Linked DNA regions of Homo sapiens: regions 2, 3, 4, 5, 6 and 7 are each linked to region 1. Evidence: promoter capture Hi-C in 16 types of primary human blood cells and fetal thymus (Javierre and others, 2016). All regions are on one chromosome and are shown on one strand. Each heading gives the region's core, a stretch centred on a gene start or on the middle of the fragment in contact. The rest is flanking DNA. Distances are from core to core; before and after follow the strand shown.

The links. The method cuts DNA at HindIII sites, captures the fragments that hold promoters and counts their contacts. A CHiCAGO score of 5 or more calls a contact.
Region 2: a fragment that was not itself captured here is called in contact with the fragment with the promoter of SPRY2 in region 1 in 3 of 17 cell types (M0 macrophages, M2 macrophages and M1 macrophages); the score reaches 6.5 in M0 macrophages.
Region 3: a contact is called between a fragment that was not itself captured here and the fragment with the promoter of SPRY2 in region 1, in 5 of 17 cell types (M0 macrophages, monocytes, M1 macrophages and 2 more). The highest score is 9.4, in M0 macrophages.
Region 4: a fragment that was not itself captured here is called in contact with the fragment with the promoter of SPRY2 in region 1 in 6 of 17 cell types (M2 macrophages, M0 macrophages, erythroblasts and 3 more); the score reaches 9.4 in M2 macrophages.
Region 5: a contact is called between a fragment that was not itself captured here and the fragment with the promoter of SPRY2 in region 1, in 4 of 17 cell types (M0 macrophages, M1 macrophages, M2 macrophages and 1 more). The highest score is 8.7, in M0 macrophages.
Region 6: a contact is called between a fragment that was not itself captured here and the fragment with the promoter of SPRY2 in region 1, in 2 of 17 cell types (endothelial precursors and M0 macrophages). The highest score is 7.1, in endothelial precursors.
Region 7: a fragment that was not itself captured here is called in contact with the fragment with the promoter of SPRY2 in region 1 in 3 of 17 cell types (M2 macrophages, M1 macrophages and neutrophils); the score reaches 7.1 in M2 macrophages.

The regions. Positions count from the first base shown.
Region 1 is chr13:80,339,705-80,342,589 of GRCh38, forward strand. It overlaps SPRY2 (sprouty RTK signaling antagonist 2), which reads right to left and starts at 1,422. Exons shown (of 2, transcript NM_005842.4): 1 at 918-1,422. RefSeq lists silencers at 1,370-1,559, 1,790-1,839. The HindIII fragment of the contact is 9,098 bases long and covers 1-2,885 here.
Region 2 is chr13:79,910,910-79,913,670 of GRCh38, forward strand. LINC00382 (long intergenic non-protein coding RNA 382) reads left to right here. Exons shown (of 6, transcript NR_120413.1): 3 at 1,486-1,593. Among named protein-coding and RNA genes, the nearest start is that of LINC00382, 40 kb to the left of the region's middle. The HindIII fragment of the contact is 244 bases long and covers 1,300-1,543 here.
Region 3 is chr13:80,006,045-80,008,782 of GRCh38, forward strand. No RefSeq gene overlaps it. Among named protein-coding and RNA genes, the nearest start is that of LINC01080, 3.7 kb to the right of the region's middle. The HindIII fragment of the contact is 926 bases long and covers 903-1,828 here.
Region 4 is chr13:79,971,258-79,974,140 of GRCh38, forward strand. No RefSeq gene overlaps it. Among named protein-coding and RNA genes, the nearest start is that of LINC01080, 38 kb to the right of the region's middle. The HindIII fragment of the contact is 423 bases long and covers 1,123-1,545 here.
Region 5 is chr13:79,987,331-79,990,030 of GRCh38, forward strand. No RefSeq gene overlaps it. Among named protein-coding and RNA genes, the nearest start is that of LINC01080, 22 kb to the right of the region's middle. The HindIII fragment of the contact is 862 bases long and covers 962-1,823 here.
Region 6 is chr13:79,931,344-79,934,043 of GRCh38, forward strand. No RefSeq gene overlaps it. Among named protein-coding and RNA genes, the nearest start is that of LINC00382, 60 kb to the left of the region's middle. The HindIII fragment of the contact is 1,518 bases long and covers 626-2,143 here.
Region 7 is chr13:79,948,779-79,951,478 of GRCh38, forward strand. No RefSeq gene overlaps it. Among named protein-coding and RNA genes, the nearest start is that of LINC01080, 61 kb to the right of the region's middle. The HindIII fragment of the contact is 1,815 bases long and covers 497-2,311 here.

The DNA of each region.
Region 1 (2,885 bases), core at 172-2,671:
ATCAGACTGAGGATTAGGGGAAAAGAACTTCAGCTCTAGGGTGGGGCAAACGGACACAGAAACTGCTTTGTAAAAAACACACAAGAATCCAAATTAAAACACAGCAACAACAACAACAAAAGGAAATAAAAAATTGCCTATTTTGCCACCTACTTTCAGGTAATGGAAAATGATCGCGACCGCTTGATGACTTTCTTCCTGCGCTGGGTCAGCCCGAGCTTCCAAAAATAAAATAAGTGTGACCCAGGCTGACCACGAAGAACGGAAGAGAGAGAGCTGCACTTCCGAACCGCAGAGACCCGGCGCCAGGCAGGGCGACGCTCCCACCCGCTCCGGGCTAGACTGTCCACACGGAGCAGAGGCGGGCACTCCCTCCACCCGGCACCCTGCCTTTTTCTCACCCTGGAAGTCTCCTGCCCCCGAGGCGGGCAACCTGTGTCCCCCAGCCCCACCAGCGCCCCGCCTAGGGACAGCCTCTCCCTGGACTTTGCCTTCCACCAAGAGGAAGAACAGGTTAGAAATGCGGGCGCCTGCAAAGGCAACCTGGAAAATACAAAGTGTTTTTCTCTCCCTCTCCCGCTCTCAGCGCCGAATTCGCGGCCAGTGCACGGCTGGGAGCAGACTTCAGGCTAGCTGTCCTCCGTCCCAACCCCCTAGAGCGCGGGCGCGCGGGGTCGCCTGTCGGGGACACTGCACGGGGTGCATACAGAAGTCCCCGCAGAGGCAGGCCGAGCCCAAGCCCCGGGCGAGGCAGGTCCGCGGGGAGCGCCCCGGATCCTCGCGAAGACCCTGCGGGATTTGAGAAAGGGAGGCTCGGGGAGAGACGGACCCAACTCCTGGTCCGGCTGCACCTACTCCATGTTGCCCACAACGCGCCGGCCGCGGCGCCAGGAGGGGAAGAGCCAAACGTGCCTCACCGTGATCGCGGCTTTGCACCAACCCCTCTCCCTTGGATTCTCTTCTTTCTGCGATGTGCAAATAAATCCAGTCTCGATGCAAACTTTTTTCCTTTCTTTCCAACCTCTGCTTTAGACCAACTTCCGAGCAATCGGCGGGAGAAAAAAAGAGAATTCGGAGCCAGATTCCCCGCTGATGAACACTCCGGGGTTCGGAGCTGGAGACGACTCCCCTTCTACAAGCGCACGCGGAGTATTTCCTCTTTTTTCTCAATGAACAAGAGGCCGAAGCGCCAACGGCAAGTCCCTTTTCCTGGCAGATGAGCGAATGGGAAAAGAAAACGGCCTTACGGAGAACCTAAAGCCAGATCGCCAAGTGGTGCGGCCGGGGCCGCGTCGTAGCGGAGGCGGCGCGGGGGCGCGGGCCGGGCCGGGCCGGGCGGGCGCGGGGGCCTGGGCGCTGCGCGCTCCGCCGGCCCCTCTCCTCCGCTAGCGCTGCGGCGCGCAGCTCTCGGCGGTGCAGACTGGGCGTTGTGGAGGCGAGGCAGCGAGGCCGAGGCGGGGGCGGTGGGTGCGGAGGAGGAGGAAGAGGAGGAGGAGGAGGAGGAGGAGGGTCTGGGGCCCGCCCGGGGGGGGCTCGCCGTTGGCCTGCGCCCTCGCCTTTCCGGAGGAGGCAGGGAGCTCTGCGGCGGCCGCGGCAGCAGTAAATGGCGTCATGTGGATCCGAGGCGGAACAGAGCAGTTGTTGTCCCAGAGGATATATCGCATCCGGTCCCAGCTCATTGGCTCCGCGGGGCTACATTCACTCACACTCCAGCGCCCGCCAGCGCTCCGAGCCGCAGGAGGCATTCAAAAGGGCAACCGCGCCGCCCCGCGCGTCCCCAGGCCGGTCCTGCCGCCCGAGCGCCGTCACGCGGGGCGCCCGCGGGGCCGGGCTGGGCACTGCAGGGTCAGTTTATCTAGTTTCAAGGAAACACTGACCTTAAGGTTTGCCCAGAGGCAATGAGGACGAGCCAGAGGCTCGAGCTGACTTAGGGAACTTTCTCCTTGCCACCAGGAAAGGGGAATGAACATTTAAGACTAATCTGGGCCACGCAGTGTTAGCATGAAAAACAAGTTGCAGGTTTTAAGACTTTATCCAGAATCCATTTCAAGTCTACCTCTCCCCTTTTCTGTTCCCCTTTGCGGAGCGGGTGACGGGGGCTGGGGCGGGGGGAGAAGAAGGGGGAGGGGAAGGGGAGCGGGAAGTGAGGTGGGAGGGCTATTGGTTTATTCTTTGTCTACTGGATTAACCCGATTATACACCAGGCACCAGCACAAACCGCCTCCCCCACCTCCGAGCCTTGTACGGGAGGAACGGAATGCAGATTCGAGTTTCAAGTACCTTCTGCTCTTGCTGGGATTTGCTTTTGATTGTGTCGACTTGTAGTTTTTCCGTTTATTAGAATTTCATTTTTAAGGGGGGTTATCTATGAATGGAGGCTTTTTGAAGAGCTTCCTTACTATTTTGCTTCATGCAGTAGCTAAAGTCTACAGTCTAAGCCTTTTAACTTAATTCATTAATAGACAGGAACAAGATTACTCAGGGCGACAGCATGGGCTTCCGAAATGGGGGGGCGGGGGGGAGGGAAGGGTTGGCTCACTGCAGATTTCCTTCTTCCCTTAACTAAAAGTCATCCTTCATTTCCCACTTTTCTTGCCACCTAGAACATTTCTCAAGATTCTGTTGTCCATGTTGAAGGTGCACTATTCTTTCCCATTTACAAAAAAAAAATAAAGATAGAAAATGCATACATATGCACTGTCCTAGCTGCCGTTCATTTACTAAGAAATGTGCCTTCACGTGGGAGCACCAGTGGAAAATTAAAACTTGCGCATACACACGCCTAATATTGCATTCTGTCGAGCGACTTACAGAATGCTTTTACTTTACAGGGAAGTACCTGCTTGTACGGTCAAAATTCCCGAATAGCACCTGCGATCTTGCCC
Region 2 (2,761 bases), core at 172-2,671, 430 kb before region 1:
ATGGACATGCATCTATTATAGTAACTCGGTAAAATAACCAGAGGCTATAGAAATTCCTGCCTAGACTTGGGTTTTTAGACATGCTTTCTTTATTCTCAACACCCGTGCACATGAGAAACTGCAGCTCAAGCACAGACTTGGCAGGCAGAGCCTGTTCACTGTTTTCTTAAACGCTCTTCCTTTCTGTACAGTCGTACCTATTTTAGGGGCACTAAGCAGCCTCACACTCGCCTCTCAGGCTTCTGAAGGGTATTGAGTACTTGTTTGGAGCACATAATTTATGCTGTGCTGAAAAATAGCTGAGACTGTAATGGTGCCCAGAGAACCCAAGTTCTCTGAAGACCAAGATCACATTAATATGCAGTATTTCATTTACAAACCCCTTCTAAGTAGGTTTGAGAGGATAATGCCTTGTTTGAATAATAATATAGCACATTTTACTTTTCAAAGTGCTTTCACATAAATCATCCATCTCATTTTATTTTTGAAACAATGAGGGAGATAAGGCCAGGATTATTACCTATAGGGAATCAAAAGCTCAGAAAGGTCAAGTGATTTACTCAAAGTCACATTGCAAGTTCTCTGTAAAGCTGAGATTAGAAGCTGTGATTCTCCCATTCCCAGCTCAGCTGGGTCTTTTTAAAAGCGTGTTAGGACCCACAGCTTCATGGGTGGAATACTGAAATTCTCAGGCCCAGCCTCTTGCCTCTAAGTGTTCCATTTCTATACTTTGCTTTTAGCATCATTTAGATGTCGTGGTCTTAAAAAATGGTAATAAATTTTAAATAAAAGTGTATAATTTAATCTTTTCTTTTAGGAAATGACTTTAGAAATTCAACCTGAAAGCATTATCAATTTCTTGAGCTAAGTTTACAAAATTGGATGCAAGTTGCATATGACAGTGATTCTTGATATTTGTTTTTCATCCTTATGTTTAATCATAGGCATGGTTTGAGTTTCATGTGAGATAACTAATGGGAAAGCACTTTGTAATTTTGAAACATTGTGATAGTAAGAGCTGACATGACAGTGTCAGAAATTATTTAATTAATTTAGTTTAACAGTTTCAATTTGTTAGAAATGGTATTTTGACTTGTTCACATAGTATCTATGCTTAGTCCCTTTTTTATAAATTTCATTTTATAATTCTTTTAAATACATACATTCATGTTATTTTATATAATATGTGATTAAATATATGTGTATATACATATATAAATTACTATTTTTGTCTTTATTAAATTCTCATACATACTGGGATTCTCTCACTTAATTTTCTAGTTTTTAAAATATTCTTAAAGCTTATGGGAAATGTTCCAATTAATTCACTCTGGCACCATGATCTGTCTATAACTTCAAAGGGCTATGCTTAAAAATCCAAAAGCCATAAACTAAAGGTATTTTATGGAATTTACTTGACATTTCAGAGGAAAACGAAGGCATTACAAAACAAGCATATTAAGTATACGATTCACATCCCAACAGCTCAAAGGCAAGGAAGACTGAGGAAGCTAAGTTACTGGCCATATGTTTAATAAATATAAGCTTAATGGCAGTGAATGTATTAATGTCAGCGAAGACAAGTCTATGAAGGTATGTAGTCCAGTGTGAACCCTATCTGGCATGCACTGATCTTTCTGTTCATAAGAATCTTAACCATGCCAATCTTCATGATTGTTTTAGCTCTATTATGCAATAGGTAAGTGTCAGCTTTGGGACAGATACCATAGTAACGGTAGACTTACAATTACAGTAGAATCAAAATATATCTTTGTCAGCCAAGTATTTGACAAGATCTTGGTATATCCTTGTGTATATTAAAGAAAGCCAGGCTGGATGAGAACATAGCTGGAGACTGAAAACCGACATTCCAAGATTGTTGATTAGTTAAATGAAATTCTGAATTTTTGCACCACTGAATTCTTTCATTGGCCATGAATGTAATACTTTATCAAAGTTTTGGATGAGAACATTGAGGGCAGGGTTATTCCCGGTTATTCCAGATGACCCAGAGCACTGAGGATTACTTTCACGACAGAAGAACCAAGAATACAAAACCACCTCAACAGATTATAACCAAGTAGTGACATTTACCCAGGATATTAGTAAAGTTCCCCACATTGATTCAAAAAATAAATTGTGTAGATAAACATTGCATTTGAACAATACAAATGTTCTAAGATATTTATACTTTTTGTCATCTTTTTCTGCCACAAATGAGCTGTATAATCTGGCCAGAAATACCTAGGTAAATACGGTGTTTCTCTATTTTACTTTGAATGTAAGACTCAACTTCAGTATCTAAGTGTTAGTGAGTATATTTTTATAAGTACTGTTGTTCCAAATCACTTGCTGTCAGTTTAATTCTGTAAATGCATGACAGGTGCCTAATCTGATTTAAGCATCACAGAACATTCCAGGAAAAAGGAAATGAATAAGATGTCATCTCTGACCTCCAAGGTTTAATGGAGAAGGCAGGCCCCCAAAGCAATCAGTGCAAAGACACTTACAAGAAGGGTGCTGTGGCTACCTAGCTATCAGCTGTGACAGTTGTTCTTGGATTTTCATTTTCATATACACCTCTTTTACCTGAAAGATGTCCCTTGCCCCTTTTTAACTTTGCCTTTTAGGAGTAAGGCAGTGAGCTATTCTCACACCACTGTGAAGTCATCAGTCCATCTTTCCCTGACTAATGGCTATAAAGCAGCAAGAGTTTCCTAATTGGCATTTCAAAGAACACTAGGGATCAATTACACATAAA
Region 3 (2,738 bases), core at 116-2,615, 330 kb before region 1:
GTTACTTTTGGGAATGTCTCAATCATAAAACAGGTCATTTATCCATCATGTACAAATGAGTGAATTATGATGTGGTCACTTGGATCTAGGGTCCATTTGTGATTATTTCCTTTATTCATTAATTCATTAACCAGGAGACAAGACTTTTGCTGCCAATGTTTTATGCTCTTTCTAAGAAACAGCAAGCTCATATTTTCTCTTCTGTGCTGGCTTGATATAACTTCTGTCTCTTCAATTACATCAAATGACTCTTTGTTTATTAAGTTTTGCAGCCTACTTTCTCCCTGAAAGACCCTGGATTCAGGATAGCAACCTTCTGAGTGCCTTCTAAGCCATGTTTTTGTCCAAGTGGGTTCAGGTTATATGTACTGAATATCGAGGACAGTCTCGAAAGAGAAAGGCCACAAAAAATAATATCATGCTGTCTGAAGAGTGGAAGGGGAAGAGCCAGGTATCTTGTCAGTTTGTCTCGGGCCTGAAAAAGGACTTATGTTCTGGTTATGTATGTTAGGCCTAGAGAGTGATGAGACTTATTCAAGAGGTCACTCAAGAAAATCATATTTTTCTTGCCACACCAAATAGCTTTAGGTCCTTCTTAGGAACTGACATCAGCAGCAATTTCTTCTCCTTCGTTCTGAAAGACTGACTCCCTGGGCTAGCTATGATGCTCCCCATCATTTTCCACCCAACTGGAGCTATGAATGGAGGATCACTGTGGGAACAAGGTGCATGCAGGTATGATTAGGTATGGCTGGACAGAGAAGGCTTAGGAACTGAGGATACGCATGGCATAGAGAAGCTTCCATGGCATAACTTTGACAATTATAGCATTTTGTTCTCTAAAATTATTATTGTTCTCCTATTGAAACAGGTCCAAAAGAGAGTTCATTAATTTCTCCAAAAGCTTTTGCACTCTTGTCACTATCCAAACCAAAAACAAAACTGGTGATCGCGCTGTAGAGCAACTGGGGAAAATTGATTGTCAGGATGAAGACAGGGGAGAAAACGTTATGAGAAAAACACAGGTTGCCTTGCTGGGACTGTTTTTGGAAGAAAAATTGTTTTGGAAGGTTATTGTCAGTGATGACAGTGTGAAGGATGAATCAGAGGAGCCAGCGAACAATTGTATCTGACCAGGATGTGGCTAAAATAATAAAGGAAAGCCAGGGATGCTGCATTTTATTAATATTACCTCTATTGCTTTCCAACATTTTTAAAGGCTGGGATACTTATATATGAAGTAAAGCCTAAATAGTTTGGATTTTTATGGAAAAACATAAACATGCATTTAGCAAATGCATGGTGCCTCTAGTGCGGTTGCAGTTTATCAAGTATCTGTTTACTTCTATAGTTCCCTACAAAATAACTAATGAAGATGCTCGCTCCGAGTCCTTCTTCCTCTGCTCACACAAATGGTGACAAATTTCTTTATTATAAAATAAGATTATTAAACTAGACAATCTCTGAAGACCTGACAGCTTTGATAGTTGAGGCTCTGCTTTTGTGAAACCTGAGGTTTTGTGACTTCTCATGCAGTTTAAATATCGAGTGACATTTTCACAGTACTCAGAGACAGCTCAGGTGACTTCTGGATCTTTTTGTTACTTCCAGCAATGATGGAAACTGCCAGATGCTTAACATTAAACTTCATTTTTTCCAAGTGGATGCCAGTGCCTTACAGCTCGAGATCACAATTGCTTTTTGGAATATTGTGTGATAACTGATACCATAGCAGTGCCAGCCATTTCAAAAGAAATGTGACACTTGTTACTTGCCTCGAGAGGGCAATTCAGGGACAGGCAGGGTGGACCTTACTGGATTAAAATGAAGCTTACTGATGAAGCGTAACTCACAAAGCTTATGCCAACTGTTTTCTTTTGGCAGGTCACCAGTGCCACTTAGCTCTCAGTTTAGCAATTATAGGTGCTAATTGCTTTGAAGTTTATCAATCTACCTAAAGGCAAAAGCAATCATCTGCTTAGTTAGATTATTATTCACATCAAGATCATTAATGTGTCTTTGCCCATCAGAATAATGTGTAGTTTGGTAAAATGAAAAGAAACTTGTGTTAGGAGTTAAAGATCTGGGACCTAGAATTTCATCATTTATTTTCTGGGTGTCCTTGGAAGAAATTATTTGTTTTCTCTTGGCCGCTATCACACTTAAAATTTAGAATAATCCCTATGCAACTTTATTTATATTTTCTAAGATTATTGAAAGAATGCATTACTTACAGCTACATGTAATAGGTTAATTAATATTTTAACAAATTAATAAATAAATATATTTTAAATTTTTTTTCACACAAAAAGCAAGTAAAAGAGCCAGAGGGAACACCTAGTTTTACCCTCTAGTTTTATAGGTAACTAAACTGAGACTCAAAGAATTTCATTAACTTAAGCAATGTTTTCACGTTAGTGGAAATAGAAATTCAATGTGCTTTCCATTAGGTCACATTTGTTCTATTTTGAAGATCAAAAGAGATAATAGATGAAATCTATAATATAGAAATGATAATATACTATACTGAGTATTTGAATAGCATATTAGCAAAGGAGAGTAGGTAATGGCATCTTTATTTTCCAAATAAAAAAACAAATACATAGGTCAATTGAAAGATTACTGGGGTCAGCTATCAAGGGTAATGGGTTGGGTTTTTGTTGTCTCTCCCTGATAATATACAGTGTGCTTTCAGTAGGGACGAAACTTACTAGTCACTAAGTGGCAGCATAGAATAA
Region 4 (2,883 bases), core at 84-2,583, 370 kb before region 1:
TTAGCTACTTTTGCTGTATTCCAGAGGTTTTGGTATGTTGTGTCTCTGTTTCCATTGGTTTTTAAAAAATGTTGATTTCTGCCATAATTTTTGTTTACTCAAACGTTATTCAGGAGCAAACTGTTTAATTTCCATGTACTTGTGTGGTTTTGAGAGTTCCTCTTGGTGTTGATTTCTAATTTTATTCTACTGTGGTCTGAGACGATGCTTGATATGATTTCAATGTTTTGACATTATTAAGACTTGCTTTCTGACCAAGCATATGGTCTATTTTAGAGAATGTTCCATGCACAGCTGAGAAATATGTATAGTCTGCATTGGTAGGTGGAATGTTCCATAGGTGTCTATTATGTCCATTTGGTCAAGAGTACAATTTATGTCCTCAGTTTATTAGTTTTCTGCCTTAATGATCCGTCTAGTGCTGTCAGTAGGGTGTTGAAGTCCTCAACTATTATTGTATGCTTATCTCTTTTTTTAAAGTCTAGTAGTATTTGTTTTATAAATCTGGGTGCTCTGATGTTGGGTGCATACTCAGGATATTCCTGAGTTATTCACTCAGATATGTTTTCTATATTTGGATAGTTAAATCTTCTTGTTGAATTGAATCTTTTATAATTGTATAATGCCATTTTTTTGTATTTTTTTTCCACTGGTTTTGGTTTAAAGTCTGTTTTATCCGATAAAAGAATAGCAATCCCTGCTCTTTTTTTTTGTTTTCAATATGCATGATAGATCTTCCTCCATCCCTTTGCTTTGATCTTGTAGGTATTATTATATATGAAATGGGTCTTTTAAAGGAAGTAGATAATTGGATCATTTTTAAAAATCCATTTTGTCAATCTATGTCTTTTAAGCGAAGTATTTAGGTCATTATATTCAAGGTTAATATTGATATGTGAAGTCATAGTGTTGTCAGCTAGTTGCTTTGTAGTCTCAATTGTGTAATTGCTTTATAGGATCTGTAAACTTTGTACTTATGTGTGCTTTTATGGTTGGTAAGTATTGTCCTTTTGGTGTTATTTAGAGCTCCTTTGAGCATTTCTTGTGGAACTGGTCTGGTAGTGATAAATTCCCTTGGCAGTTGCTTGCCTGGGAAAGACTTTATTTCTCCTTCATTTATGAAGCTTAGTTTGGCAGGATATAAAATTCTTGGCTAATTTTCTTTTTGTTTAAGACGGCTAAAAATAGGCCTCCAATCTCTTCTGGCTTGTAAGGTCTCTGCTTAAAAGTTTGCTGTTAGTGGGATGAGATTTCTTTTGTAGGTAATCTGGCCCTTTTCTCTAGTTATCTTTAAGATTTTTTCTTCAGCATTGACCTTGGATAATCTCATTACTTTTTGCCTTGGGGATGGTCATTTTGTATAGTGTCTTGCAGGTGTTCTCTGAATTTCTTGTATCTGGATGTTGAACTCTCTAGCAAGAATAGGGAAATTTTCCTGAATTATTCCTTCAAATATGTTTTCCAAGTTGCTTATTTTTTCTTCTCTTTCAAGAATGCCAGTAAGTCATAGGTTTGGTCATTTTACATAATCTCATATTTCTCAAAAGCTTTGTTCATTTCTTAAAATTATTTTTTCTTTATTTTTGTCTGACTGGGTTAATTTGAAAGGTTGGTCTTCAAGCTCTGAAATTCTTTCTTCTGCTTGATCTAGTCTATTGTTTCAGCTTCCAATTATATTTTGAAGTTCTTTAGTGAATATTTTTCAATTTCAAAGTTCTATTTGCTTTTTTTAAAATATAGCTATCTTGTGTTTCATATCCAGAATCATTTTTTTCTGGTTTCTTTGTTTCTATTTTCAACTTTCTCTTGGATTTTGTTGAGTTTCTTTGTCATCTACATTTTGAATTCTTTATCAAAATGTAGATTTCAGTTTATTTCAGACTTTTCATTTTGGTTAGGACACATTGCTAGAGAGCTAGTGCAATCCTTTGGAGCTGTCAAGACAACTTGTCTTTTTGTATTGCTGAAGTTCAAGCACTGATTCCCTTTCATCTAAGGGAGCTGTTATTTCTTATTTTTGAATTTGCTATTCTTTGAATGGGACTTTTAAAATTTTTATTCTTTTTTCCCTTGAGAATATGACTGTGTTGTATGTTACGTATGATTGGTTTAATTTCTGGGTGCTTTCATGGGGTCAAAGCTCTGTATGGGTTCCTTGGTTGTGGATAGCTTCTATGTGGTGGCTTTCTCAGATGTTGCTTGTTGTAGTGATGTATTGGACATAAGAGCCAACATGCTGTCTCGTGCATGGCTGAGGATGTGGAGGTCTCAGAAAGCTTATCTCATCCACTAAGCACTAAGCCCTTCTGGCAGATTTTTTTTTTTTTTATTTAGTGGTGCAGTTTAGCCTCCAGTCCAGTAGGTGGTGCTTAAGAGTAAGAGCCAACTCAGGAAAACTAATAATGAGTGGAAGTTCCCACCCCGATGGGAGTGGTCAGAGGAGACTGTGTTGGAGTGCACTGAGGTCTCTGGGGATGGTGCAGGGAGGGGCGCACCAGTTCCTATCCTGAGCCCACAGGAACACAATCTGTTTCCTTTTCACACCTTTGTCACAGGGCTCATGACCTTCAGCTCATTTAGACTTTGAACATTTGGTTCCATGCCATAGTGTGGCTGCAGGCCTTGTATACACCCCTCCGGTGGCCACCACCAAAATGGGCCCCAGGCAGAGCCTCTTCATCCAGTCCTCGGTGGACAACTCTGTGGCTTGTCTGCTCTTTGTTGCTAGGATGTTGCTGCTCTGTGTTTCTGTGTAGGGAGGTAGTTGACCCCTGCTCTTCCTGCAAGCCCAAGTAGTGCAGGCTCACTTTTAACAGGGGTGAAGCTATTGACAAAAGCACAAAAAGTGCATTCTCCAAATACACATTCACCTGCCCCCAGGAG
Region 5 (2,700 bases), core at 143-2,642, 350 kb before region 1:
TGTTCTGGTACATCTGGTTCTCACTCTGTCCTACAAACTAAAATAGTGAAATCCTGATTGTCAGCCTCTGAGACAGCAGAGGTTTCATTGTGAAGCATGACTCTGCCTTGCCTGTCCCTCCCAATAAACAATTGCTCACTGTGGGCTTGGGGTCCACACCCAAGGTAAATGACTCAGTTGCAATTTCAAAAATACCATAAACAAGCACAGAATATTTGTACAAGGCAATAGAACAATTAAGCTTAGTTTAACCAAGTTGTCTCATTTAATTACTATGGCATTGAATGGCATTGAGCAGAATGCTAAGAGCAGTAAGAATAAGTATTGCCATAACCACTGGAGATACTATTCAGAGTTGAATTTTTGCCCTTAGCACTTATTTTTATTTCCTTCCTCTACAGATTTGGTCCCAGCGCTGGTTAGCCTGTGCAATTATTTATTCCACAGACATTGCTTAGTTTCAATTTATCCCCTTTGAGCTGTAGGAGCTCTAATAAACACTTCTTTTGTTTTGGATTTCAGTTTTCACCACTGAATTTCTGAATCATAGAATCTCTGGAGTTTCATCCTTCTAGTTCCAAAAATATTTAATTAACTATGGATTACAGAGCAAGAGAGTCATTTAGAGTGATGTTAGTCAGAGGAAGCAACTTCAGAGGAGGCTCATACCTGGAAGGCCCATCTTTCACCTTCCCTCTCCCACCTTAGCAAGTTTCTACAATGCCTTCTAGACTTGGTTCCAAGGTCACCTACTCTTTGAGAATGTTCTTAACTGCCCCTGTAAATGATTTCTCCTCTCTGGCCCACAAGTCTCTGCATATGACATAGTGTAGCTTACCTGTACACACATCTGCTTTCTCCCATATACTGTGAGCTACACAATAACAAGAGCCATCTCACCCATCTTTGAGCAAACAGAGGTACCCTTCCTATAATAAAAATACCATTTATTTATTTCAGAAGCTTTCAATAGTTGATACATCTTATATTTTATGAATGTTCCATATGTATTATATATATGTTCCAAACAAGACTGTAAGTGTCCTCAGTGAACATACAATGTGTGTGCCTTCTTTTGGTGTTTTCCTCAGCTCTGGGTACACGTGCTTAGAAAGTAGATGCTATAATTCCCTGTATTGGAATAAGATAGATGGCAATATTTCTGATGAGCCTTCCTTAAGAATTCCCCTGTTTATCACCACTTGAAAGCACTTATTAATTTACTTATACTTAGTTCATATAAAGAAGTTTAAATGGTTTAATCTATGATTTTAGACAGCTAAATATAGGCACACAATTGTTAGCTCCTGGAGGGCAAGGAAGTTGCTAGTTTATCTTGCCTTACAGAGTACATTAAACAGTACAAAGTATTATCACTATTTAAAAAAATACTCTTTTACGACAGGGCTGAGTCATGGGGCCACGGAGCTGATGTGAACAAGCAATGTTCAGACTCAGAGAGTAAAATGCAGAGATACTTTTAGTGTCATTGCATATTCTCCATTCCAGACTCTCTACTGCAAGCTCTTTCTTTGTGATTTGGCCAACCCAACAGAGAAGAACGTTGAGAGGATTTCTTTCTGCACATTCATTGGCAGTAAGTCCAATGTTAATCCATCCTCAGGCTAATGGCCAGTTGGGACCAGAGGTAAACTACTAGTGGCTAACTATTCAAACAGGAAAAATGGTTTGAGACATTGTAAATTCTCACGTAAATTCATTTATGCCAAAACAGGCTAAGTTTCTTTTTCCTAGAAAACCAGGACAAGGATTTTAATCAAATCATTCAGGTAATTGCCTTAATATGTTTTGCCTTTGTGGGAAGCTTTTGACTTTTTACTTCTCGCCTATTTGCTGATGATATGGTAGTAATCTCTTGGAAGACCTAGGCACCTGGCCGGCAGTCATTCTCTCCACCCTCTGGCTTGACACCATCCTGGGTGACTCCAACTGACAACTTTGCCTCAAGGTTCCTTGCCTGCTTCAGCTTCCAGAATTTTCCGCCACCCCAGGCACCCACTCCATGGTCACACCCTAGATCTTATCACATGCAGATTGCACCATCTCTCAAATAAAGTAGTCACAGTCATTCTTAACCATGCATTCCTCACCATCTCTCTCACTTTATTGTTCCCAACACCAGCTCTTTGACTTTAGTGCTTTATTTTATAGAGTCCCTTGTCCCTCTCCCCATTAGGTCCCTCCTGTCTTTACTTAGCTCCTTAGTCATGCCATTACTTCATCCTTTTGTTTACCAGTTTGCTAAAACCTCTATTCTGTGGTCATTCCGCCATTCCTCATTGGAGAAAACCCTACAAACCTTAATACATTCTACTGCTACATTCTCTGCTTTTGCATGCAGCTCACTGACATTTCAAGAGAAAAATCATACAGTGGTCAGAATTGGTCCACTACATATTTATGTCTTTCATTTTGATGGGGCACTTGTGGCTCTCTAATGCACTACTATATTTTTCCTGGTCAACAAGCAATGATTCCATGTAGTATTTCAACAATACCTATGCCTCTCAAAAGTCCATCACCCCACCCCAGAAGCCCCCTCAGCTATTAGCCCGTGATCTTCTATTTAATAGAGAAAACAAATAATGCAACAGTAATTTTCTCAATTTACTTTTATACAACTCAATAGTTTCCTTCTCTTCCCTGTCAAAATGAAAAATATTTTCTTCCTTTTCCCTC
Region 6 (2,700 bases), core at 135-2,634, 410 kb before region 1:
CCTGACTAGAACGGGTATGGTTGGAGTATGTATCAGGAGTTGGATGGAAAACTGAAGAGTGACAGAAGTATCTTGACCAACTTTGGTATTGTCTTTTGAGTTTTGCACTTTATTCTAAAGATTGTAACACACCATCATATTCAAAGTTGCTTTTAATAAATTCCTACTTAAAAAAGACATATGATAAGTGTTGCAGGAAACACAAACAAGCAAACATTTGTACATTAATAGCCTTCCAAAGAATAAATCTTTGTGCCAGAAGGTGAAATTGATTGAAAGGTTTTGTCCATTCCAGGCACAACTTTGGCTCTTTGCAATTTCTATAAATGCCAAACATAAGTGGAAATCTGCTGTGACATGTATTCAATAATAAAATTGTCCCTCACGTGGACATTGCACCTGAGGCTTTGACAAAATATCCTTCTAACAGTGTAGTGCAACCTGATACCCATCCCCAAAGACTGGGCTGAGCCTTAAGTCATTGCTTCACCCCAAATAAAATGTTCTTATTTCTTCCCCCTTCGCCTGTGCTCTTTATTTCTATTAAACTTCTTTGTAAATGTATGCTCTGTAAAGTTAAGAGTGAGAGAATGCAAGTGCTGCCGGAAAGAATGAAGAGTTCACAAGCTTAGAACAGAAAGGGAGTTACTAAACTATTAAGCTCAATTAACAAGTGAAAAATGAACTAAGTTGTTCCAGAGTGATTTTTAATTCTGTCAAATAAAGAGGAACCAGACTGCAGGGTAAACTCTTATTTATTAGTTTTGGGTAATGAGGTTTTCCATAAGCAGAATTTCTTAAATTTTATTGAATCCATAAAATCACCAGTTGGAAATCTGGTTTTTCCCACCAGAGTAGGATTTTAATGGAGCATACAGAAAACACCCAAGTGCTGTAAAGTAACTGTATGGAGGTGAAATGGTCTATGAGTTATATTATTGGCCTGGCTGACAGGGTTTCAGAAGTCCTTCATTTGAATTTAATCTCTACTATGTACCTCTTGTGCATTAATTTTTACCTTGAGGATAATGGTTCTGTACTTTCTTTATGGTTATTACCAAGGAACCATGATAAAAATAGTAATGTCAGGGCCTCCCTGTTCTAGCCTCAGACTGAACAGAACACCGCTATGTGGAGTGTATGCCGACGGGTCCTAAACCTCTGCTAAAGAAGGATCAAGGCACAGGTGCGACAACCCCCTTATAGTACAGATAGCTTTGCTGTACTCCATGGCCAAAGGGCACATCTTACCCTAGTCTACTGCCTTGTGAACACCTGCCTTCATTTATAAAAGAGTCAAGGGAAAAAGCATGCTGGAGGAGCATAAATCCGTCCCCACAACTCGAAAATGGCATAAAGAACCTGCTTTGAAGATAGTCAATACTTCCTTCCTTATTTCTGAAGTTATTGGCAGTAAAGGAAATTCCTTTAGTGTGAGACCAGTCTTCATATCTCTGTTTGCATTATGTGTTTTTAAAGACACACACACAAAATGAAATAATGAGGGCTTGGAAATTGTCAACTAACTTTTGCAAGACTGCCTAGATCAAGTGTAATGTTTCTACACTTGTCTTTGTTAAATGAAAGACATATGATGTGGTTCAAAAGTTGTGTACCCCAGTGTACAGAACTTATCAGAAGAATTGATTTTCAGTCCTACTAGTGAGACTATATTTAGCTATCAAATGGACTGCTTTGCCTAAATTCTATAGTGCTTCAAGCCAGGCATATCAAGAAACCAATTGTATACTTCCCTTCTCTCGCCAAAAACTCTTTTGCTACTTCCACCTCATAAATGGTAATCCCAAGGGTAAATTAGAGTTTTGTGGGGTCTGGAGCATGTAAAATATAAAGCTCTTTTTAAGAGTTTTTTTTTTTTTCCTAATTGTTGCCTACTGTACCATGTTAATTGCAGAATAACTGTAGGAATGGTATTGATGATAGATTCATTCCACTACTCCAGGGAGCTGTGCTTTTCTAGTATTTTCTCCTACCTGGTAAACCTAAGGGCCACATCCCTCCAAAGATGTGTCCTGTGTGAGTGGACAGTCAGGCATGGCTGCAGGTAGATTGTACCAGCTGATGGTAGCCATGGCCTCACCCTTACTGCCTGCTTTTCCAACTTAAGAGTGTTTATCATGGAAGCTTCTGTGTCCTGAATTAGGCTTATACCTTAGACTTAGATGTTGGACTGGCTGTTTCTAGCCTCAGGACATTTTCCATCCAATAGTAATACCTGGCTTCTTGCCAGGTGGCCCAGGTATCCTCAAAGGCACATGAGAGATCTCTGTTACTCCCCTTTCTACCACCTTCAGGGTCTAGCTCCATAAGGCACATTGGAACTCCGTGGTAGCCCCAATGCCCTGTTACCCACTCATCTGACGTCCCATTGAAAATGTGTTCTAGATAAAACAGCAATCTCCTGGGAATCTTATCCTGTTACATATTTTTTTTCTGAAAATAATTATCTCCAATTTTATGATATAACACATAGTCATTTAAGCATTATCAAAAGCCTAGGAATTTAAGGCCAGCCAGGGCAACATAGTGACATCTCCATTTCTAAACACCACCCCCCCAACACACAAACTTCCACCTTCTGGTTCTTCCATGAACATTTCCCACTGCCATTTTTTATTTTATTTTATTTGTAGTCAAGAGAGAGAAGGAGACTGAAAAAATAGCATTCATTTTATTGGA
Region 7 (2,700 bases), core at 154-2,653, 390 kb before region 1:
ATATCCCATAATGGTAAGTGCTGCCATTGATCTTACCCATTTCATTTCTATGTGAATGGTAATCATAAGCCTTGGAATTTTTGGTAAAGTTTTAATTTCAAGAAGTTGATCATTTCTTAAATGTATAAGTGAGACAGTTTGCATAATGTTTAAAAACCTTCATATAAATAAATTCATAATTTTAAAAACTCCCTCTTTTTTTTCTGACCTTGTATCTTGATTGGTGTCTCTGAATATGTAAACTATCTTAGGAAAAACACTAAAAACCCAAGTCAAAATTGTGGCTTGTGGGGGCCCTTAGTAAATTAACTCCTTATCTACTTGTTTAAACTGATATTCTATGAAAATAAGTTTCATATTTACTTAAAGTCTAATGAAAAGCTGGTTTTCAATTAGTGAAAATTATACACAATAGGGTAGTTTTAACAAGTATTTTAAGAATACATTTGAGATGATGTATGATGAAGATTAATTGGAACATCAGTTATAATGTCAAAGCTTATAAACAACTAAAATGTACATCAGTGAGAGTTAATATATTAATTATCATTCTACCACACAATGCAATGCCTTATAAACCATTTAAAAAATATGAAATTCTGTATTTGTGATATGGAAAGTTTTCCAAGATGTTTTAAGGGAAAAAAATTACAAGGTGCAGAACAACATATATAGCATTTTCCCATTTATGTGGAATAATATTTCTGTGGATAATTTTAGAAATGAATGGAATATCTCCTGAAGTTTATGAAAACTGGTTGTCTTTGAGGAGTGGAATGGTTTTTGAGGCACAGGGGAAAATGAGAGATTTTTCATTGTACGCCATATAGTGCATTTCTATCTTATATCATGTACATTAATCCTACTTAATATTCACAAATATTATAAATAAATGAAGCAAAATAAGGAATTTATCACATATTTTGTTACATGCTGTTTCCCATCATAATACAACTTATTGGGAGGCATTCTAATTCCTAAAATTTAGGTAATCACAAATAACTTTTTCCTTGTAAAATGGGCTTGACATCCATGATTACTTTTCAGAAATTCTGCTGAAACTGCTGACTTTGTATGACTATATGCTAGCTGACTTCAGAGAGTTTGGCGCTCTTGATCAAGAGCATATCTGCAAGGGCTTTAAAAAAATCTATTTCCATTCAATATAATTTCTATTTCTCTGGTTATTTTAGAAGTTGAATGAGAAAGCCTTTATTAACTGCCACCATATCCCTGATTTATTCCAGTAATGTCCAGTAATGTTTATTGACCTTTCAGAGTGGAGCACTTGGAACTTGCCCATCTGAGTTGCTTCTTAATCCTACTGTGGTTTCACACCAATGTAAGAGTTTTGCTAATGTTATATTACTTAAAACCAAATAGAAAATAAAATAAGAGTTTAAAACCTTATTTCAATTTTATCCCAGACAGAAGTTTGGACATTTGGGACCCCTTAATGATGGTGACAACTCTTTAAATCTATTGTTAAGATGTGAACATTTGAACTCTCATTAAAGATAGAATTTAAATGAAAAGAGAAAAAGAACTAAAGTAGCAAAAGAGATGTTAAGAGAATTTATAAAAGGAAAGATATAGAGTTATTTCTTCAAATCTTCAAAATTTTGGTTTAGTGATATTATGCTCTTTCCAATTTAATTTCATTTTATTTGAATAATGCCTGTTATGAGTGTTGTTTATGATGATGATAAAAATGATCTATAGTATAGAAAACACTCCATTATGTAGCTCTTATGACCAGACATTTTCCATTAAGTTTTAGATATATTATTTCTTCTTTTCTTTATGTATACTTTATTTATTTTTGAGTGCATATGGAAAATATAATCATTTTGCTTTGCTACAAATAAAATCTGATTTCTTCTGATTTTACATATAGTTTGTGTATGAATTACATGAGAAAACTTCATTAAAACAACCTGACCTTACTAGCGAATGTCCTTTTATACCACTTTTGCCAGAAAATGGAGCCAAATTACTGAAACACCTCTAAAATTTTGAAAAGCAAACAGAAGTTTAATTGGGAAAATTATGCCAATTCATTGTTATTTAATATTTTAGCAAGGGATTTTTTTCCAGTAATATCAATGAATCTTATACTCTAAAAGCTGCAATATAATCCATTTAACTTACAAAAACCTGGCTCTATAGTCCACCTATGAAGAGTGGAAAAGGGAAGAGTAATTTCAAGTGGATAAATCTAACAAGCAATAACTCAATCAGACGACAAAGGTCAACATCAACCATGATAAGTAAATGACACCTTGTACAGCTGGGTACCCCTCTGAAAGGAAGCTTCCAGAGGAAGGATCAGGCAGCGATATTTGTTGTTCTGCAATATTTGCTGTTCTGCAGCCTTTGCTGGTGATACCCAGGCAAACAGGGTCTGGAGTGGAACTCCAGCAAACTCCAACAGATCTGCAGCTGAGGGTCCTGACTGTTAGAAGGAAAACTAACAAACAGAAAGGAATAGTATCAACATCAACAAAAAGGACATCCACACCAAAACTCCATCTGTAGGTCATCATCATCAAAGAGCAAATGTAGATAAAACCACAAAGATGGGGAGAAACCAGAGCAGAAAAGCTGAAAATTCTAAAAACCAGAGTGCCTCTTCTCCTCCAAAGGAGCACAGCTCCTCACCAGAAATGGAACAAAGCTGGATGGAGAATGACTTTGATG